2 separate regions of the Homo sapiens genome follow, and region 2 is linked to region 1. The links are contacts of gene promoters, found by promoter capture Hi-C in blood cells and fetal thymus (Javierre and others, 2016). All regions are on one chromosome and are shown on one strand. Each heading gives the region's core, a stretch centred on a gene start or on the middle of the fragment in contact. The rest is flanking DNA. Distances are from core to core; before and after follow the strand shown.

Region 1 (3,103 bases), core at 604-3,103:
TCCTTGAGCTTCCCACTCTGCTCATCTCATTTTACCCTCCCCTTCCTAGACACTGCATCTTTGTTAATATAGCCCATGATCACACCCATCCTTTGTAGCGGTGTTCGCTCTGCCTGCAGGTGGGTAGGGAGAGAAAGGAAAATCCAATATAAAATGCATATCTTGCCCCCACTGTGGCCCACAGCCACACTGCCTTTTCCAGACCCTGTCTCAAGCCCCCACTCCAACAAAATGGCCGCAGATGGTCAGGGGTTCTTCCATAAGGATCTGAGCCACAGACAGCGGTAAAGCCGTTACTGTTCCAACAACAGAGATCTAGCAGGCTTTCCCTCCCAGCTGAGAACCCGGGTCCATGCCACAGGGCAGCCTCAGGCTGATGCCTGAACAGAAACACCACCATGCCGGGACCAAGAGCCTGGGTCCCCCAGTGCCCGAGGCAGCCCTAACACACTGTTCAGGCCTAAATACCACCCATGACCTAACGTGGAAGAAGTCAGGTGACAGGTGTGAGAAAGTGTAAAGCAAGTGGCCTCGGCTCAAACCTTCTTTAAAGTAGGGCCGGAATGGCTGAGAAGATGGAGCCGCCCAGGCTGCCCCACAGCAGTAGCAGGTGTTAAACTGTGCTCCTTTCCTGCCGAGGCCTTTTTTTTTTTTTTTTTTTTTTTTTTTTTTAATGAGAGGGAGTCTGAGCTTCCATCAGATTGTCAAAGGATTCAAGACTAAGATTAAGAGCATCCCCCAAAGAGAAGCAGCTGCAGGTTGAGAAGTCCTCGGACCGCCTAATTTCCGCCAGCCCTGGGATTGGTGGCGCCGCCTCTCAGCGCCTCCTTTCCCGGGGAACCTGCAAACCTGGCGCGGCCGAGAGGCGGATTACTGACCCAAATACGGATGGGGATATTGGGGGAGGGGAGCCAGGGCGACAGGGCGGCGGCCCCAGACTGGGAGGGCGGGTCACAGATCCCTCCCAGCCCCCCACTTTCGTAGAGCGTGGGCAGGAGGAACCTCTGGGTTCCGCGGATCAGAAAAACTCCAAAGGCCGGGTTGTGAGTCCCGGGAGGGGAGGTGGAGGGCGGGGGCGGGGAGGGGCGCGGGAGGGGCGGGGGCTTGCTCCGGCCCCGCCCCCTGCGCTCCGGTGCAGGTCGGGCTCCCCCTGGCGGTCCCCGGCCCCGTTCCTCTCCTCGTGCGCCCCCCTCCCGCCGTCCTAGACCCCTGCCTAGCCCAGGTCGGTCTCCGCGGACCCACGGACGGACAGACAGACGGGAGGACGGCCAGCCGCGAGCGCCCGGGCGGCGGGAGGGGGCGGGGAGGCGACGGCCGTGGCGTGAGGAGCAGGAGCAGGTGCAGCGGCGGCGGCGGGCGGGGCCGGGACCCGGCGCGGAGCGGGAGCCGCGGCGCGGGCGGGCGGCAGGGACCGGGAGGCCGCGACTCGGAGTCAGCCCCGCCGGGTCGCGCGCAGGTCCGGGGAGCCGCGGTTGAGCCGGGTGGGGTGGTGACTCCAGAGAACGCAGGATCCCAAGGAGACAGAGAGGACGAGAGCTGGAGGGGGATCCGGAAAGCGGCGGGGGCGCTCCGGGAGGGGTGGAGTAGGACATAGGGGGCGCACCTGGAGGAGAGACGGGGCGGGGGTGGCCAGGACCTGAGCTGGAGCCTGGGAGCCCGAAGGCCAGACAGGTGAGGCGGGAGACCCGGAGGTGGGGGTGAGGTCCGGTTAGTGGGAGAGATCCGGAGGTGTTAAGTTCTGAGCTGGGCTGGGAAGGCAGGCTGGGCGGGGAGAAGGGCTCTTAGCGGGAGGCCCAGGGGTGGTCAGCTGGTGGGGGAAGCTGGGGGAGGACGCAGGGCCAGGTGGAGAGCCGGCAGGGTTGGGGGCTCCCTAGGCGCCAGGCAGGTGGGCTCAAGGGTGAGGCTGTTTTTTTTGTTTTGTTTTTTGTTTTTGAGACGGAGTCTCGCTCTGTCGCCCAGGCTGGAGTGCAGTGGCGTGATCTTGGCTCACTGCAACCTCCGCCTCTCGGGTTCAAGCGATTCTCCTGCCTCAGCTTCCTGAGTAGCTGGGATTACAGGTGCGCACCACCATGCCCGGCTAACTTTTGTATTTTTAGTAGAGATGGGGTTTCACCATGTTGGTCAGGCTGGTCTCGAACTCCTGACCTAGTGATCTGCCCTCCTCAGCCTCCCAACGTACTGGGATTACAGGCGTGAGCCACCGCGCCCGGCCTGAGGCTGGTATTAAGAAGTGAAGTGGGACCCAGGTGGAGGTAAGGAAGAGTCTGGTGGGGAGTTATCTCAGAAGTGAGGCCAGCACAGGCTGAGTGCAGCCCCAGGGTGAGAAGGTGCCCACCGAGAGGACTCTGCAGTGAGGCCCTAGGCCACGTCCGAGGGGTGCCTCCGATGGGGGAAGCCCCTCCCTGGGGGTCACCGGAGCCATGCTGTCCCGCAAGGGCATCATCCCCGAGGAATACGTGCTGACACGCCTGGCAGAGGACCCTGCCAAGCCCAGGTACCGTGCCCGCCAGCGGAGGGCCCGCTTTGTGTCCAAGAAAGGCAACTGCAACGTGGCCCACAAGAACATCCGGGAGCAGGGCCGCTTCCTGCAGGACGTGTTCACCACGCTGGTGGACCTCAAGTGGCCACACACATTGCTCATCTTCACCATGTCCTTCCTGTGCAGCTGGCTGCTCTTCGCCATGGCCTGGTGGCTCATCGCCTTCGCCCACGGTGACCTGGCCCCCAGCGAGGGCACTGCTGAGCCCTGTGTCACCAGCATCCACTCCTTCTCGTCTGCCTTCCTTTTCTCCATTGAGGTCCAAGTGACTATTGGCTTTGGGGGGCGCATGGTGACTGAGGAGTGCCCACTGGCCATCCTGATCCTCATCGTGCAGAACATCGTGGGGCTCATGATCAACGCCATCATGCTTGGCTGCATCTTCATGAAGACTGCCCAAGCCCACCGCAGGGCTGAGACCCTCATCTTCAGCAAGCATGCGGTGATCGCCCTGCGCCACGGCCGCCTCTGCTTCATGCTACGTGTGGGTGACCTCCGCAAGAGCATGATCATCAGCGCCACCATCCACATGCAGGTGGTACGCAAGACCACCAGCCCCGAGGG
Region 2 (3,103 bases), core at 340-2,839, 170 kb after region 1:
ACTGAATCCCTCTTCCCAGTAATTCCTGGTCAATTCCCTGCATCTACTTCTTGTCCATACACCGGGTCACTACCGTATATCCAGAAACTGCTCCCAGGCTCGGTGGCAGGGAATAATAACCTGGGGGTATATAGATCTGTCTCCACCAAAACTCCCTTCCCCAAAGAAATCCATGGATGGAATTCAAGAGGCCTATGAACTTGAATGGGAAGGAAAAAATATCATGTCTTTATTTTCACTAATCTCAAATAGAAACTTAGCAATTCCTTCCCTTACTAATGTAGGCCACAAGTCATAGCAGTACTAGCTGTATCTGTGACTTTGTCACTAACAGATATCCCAGATATTTTTCTTTTTTTTAAATGGAGTCTCGCTCTGTGGCCCAGGCTGGAGTGCAGTGGTATGATCTCAGCTCACTGCAACCTCCCCGTCCTGGGTTCAAGCGATTCTCCTGCCTCAGCCTCCCAAGTAGCTGGGATTACAGGCATGCACCACCACACCTGGCTAATTTTTTATATTTTTGGTAGAGACAGGGTTTCACCATGTTGGCTAGGCTGGTCTCGAACTCATGACCTCAAGTGATCTGCCTGCCTCGGTCTCCCAAAGTGCTGGGATTACAGGTGTGAGCCACTGTGCCCGACCACATCCCAGATATTTCTATGTCACATTATTGCAGTTAAAACTATCTTGAAATATCATTTGTGTTCATACTGCTATGAAATTATGGTAGTCATTAGACTGCCATTAGATCTTTTTAATATATCAACAAAAAGCATGTATATTATATCCCACATGGTGATTTAATATTTTGAGAACTGTATTTCACTATAATAGGTTTCCAATTCTATTTTAGCTTTGTATGTAAAAACATTATTCTGAGTAGGGGGTCTATAGACTCCCTGACTACCAAAACGGTCCATGGCATAAAAAAGGAAAACCTCTGGAATTTGGACTTGATTGGATTTGACACTTAGCTCCAAACCCCCATGTATTTTTCCTTATTTACTCTCCTTTGTAGTCCCAAAGGACTAAAGTGGCGACAAACATTCAGACCCACTGACATGCATTCCCCAAGGCAGCATGGTAAGATGATTAAAAGCTCAGACATTGGAGTCAGCCTGCCCAGCTCTACCACTCATTAACCATGTGACCCAGGCAAGTTACTTAACCTCTCTGTACCTCATATCTGTTAAGTGGGAATTAGAATTGTCTCTCATAAGGTTGTTCTGAAGGTTAAATGAGTTAATTTATTAAATGTTGGTTGGGCACAGTGGCTCATGCCTATAATCCCAGCACTTTGGGAGGCTGAGGTGGGCGGATCACTTGAGCCCAGGAGTTCAGGACCAGCCTGGGCAACATGGCAAAACTCTGTCTCTACAAAAAATACAAATATTAGCTGGGTGTGCTGGTGCATACCTGTAGTCACAGATACTTGGGAGGCTGAGGTGGGAGGATCACTTGAGCCTGGGGAGGTCAAGCCTGCAGTGAGCTGTGATCATGCCACTGCACTTTAGCCTGGGGAACAGAGTGAGACCTTGTCTCAAAATAAAATAAAAATAAAATAAAGTAACATAACATAAAATATAAAATAAAATAAAATATCTAGCACATAGCAAGCTCTCAGCAAATGTTAGCTACTCTTCCAAGTACCTATCACCTGTTTCTTTATGATATTCTGGGGAGGGGAAGAGGAGGAGAGAAAAGAGTAGGTTGGCTATTCCTCTTGTGAGTCACAGCCTACACATCATACTTTAATGATGCACAAAATGGCCATCCTTTTTAAAGGCATATCAAAGAAACAGTTGATAGTTCTTTGAAATTTTTCTAACTTAATTTTAGGTTTTATATAGTAACTCACAACTGAATTTAAAAAATTATTCAGTGCAATACAAATGCTCCTCACCACTGGTTTACAAGGCAGGGCTTCCACTGAAATAATATTAGTCTTTCATAATTCATGCTCAGGCCAGGTGCAGTGGCTCATGCCTCCAATCCCAACACTTTGGGAGGCCAAGCGGGGAGGATTGCTTGAGCCCAGAGGTTCGAGACCAACCTGGGCAATATGGTGAGACCTTGTCTCTAAAAAAATTATTTTAATTAGCCCAGTGTGGTGGAGTGCACCCGTAGTCCCAGCTACTCAAGAGGCTGAGATGGGAGGATTGCTTGAGCCCAGGAAGTTGAGGCTGCAGTGAGATGTGATCATATCACTACACTCCAGCCTAGGTGACAGAGTGAGATTCTGTCTCAAAAAAAAAAAAAAAATCATGTGAATTTCTATACAAGAGGAAAGTCTTGGCTATGTTGTTTTAACTGAAGGGGAAAAGGTATTAAATATAAATGGAAGTAATTTCATTCATTCACTTAACAATTATTAGGCTCTCTGAGCCAAGCACTGCTCTAGATGCAAAGGAATTAATGGTGAACAAGACAAAGTCCCTGCTGTCATTGAGCTTACATTCTAGTGTGGGAAAATAAATACCTAAAATAAATAAATAAGAAAAGTATCAGGAGGTAGTCAGTGCTTCACAGAGCATTAAAATAAAGTCACGCTATATATATAGGGACGAGGTGAGTATTTTAGACTGGGTGGTCAGTGAAATTCTCAGGAGGTAACATTTAACCAGAGATATGAAGGACAAAAAGGAGCCAGTCACACTCAAAGGGACAGCATTTCAGGCAAGGGAATAGCTAGTGCAAAGTCATTAGAGCAGGAGTGAGCTTGCATATTCTTGGCTGTTTAGGAATGAAAGAAGGCTGCTGTTGCTGGAACAGTGGTCAAGGGGCAGAGCGATACAGGAGAGGTAAACTGGATCAGGTTTGTAAGGCTTTGGAAGCAAAGGGAAGGTTTATTCTAAGTGCAATGGAAAGCTACTAGTGAGTTCAACCAGTTGGTGAGGTGATCTGATTTACCTTTTATTATTATTCTTTTTTTTAAGAGACATGGTTTCCCTTTGTTGCCCAGGCTGGAGTGCAGTGGTCCAATCATAGCTCACTGCAGCCTCAAACACATGAGTGCAATGAATCCTCCTTCCTCAGCCTTCTGTGTAGCTGGGAATATGGGAGCGCATCACCATGCCCAGCTATTTAAAAAAATTTTTTTTTA

Evidence for each region. Contacts are between HindIII fragments. The CHiCAGO score rates a contact against its expected background, and 5 or more counts as called.
Region 2: a fragment that was not itself captured here is called in contact with the fragment with the promoter of KCNJ11 in region 1 in 2 of 17 cell types (non-activated CD4 T cells and naive CD8 T cells); the score reaches 5.4 in non-activated CD4 T cells.

Annotation. Positions count from the first base shown.
Region 1 is chr11:17,387,409-17,390,511 of GRCh38, reverse strand. KCNJ11 (potassium inwardly rectifying channel subfamily J member 11) reads left to right here and starts at 1,853. Exons shown (of 1, transcript NM_000525.4): 1 at 1,853-3,103. The coding sequence starts at 2,421. RefSeq lists silencers at 773-872, 953-1,462 and an enhancer at 2,671-3,103. The HindIII fragment of the contact is 14,360 bases long and covers 1-3,103 here.
Region 2 is chr11:17,217,224-17,220,326 of GRCh38, reverse strand. No RefSeq gene overlaps it. Among named protein-coding and RNA genes, the nearest start is that of PIK3C2A, 11 kb to the right of the region's middle. The HindIII fragment of the contact is 6,380 bases long and covers 1-3,103 here.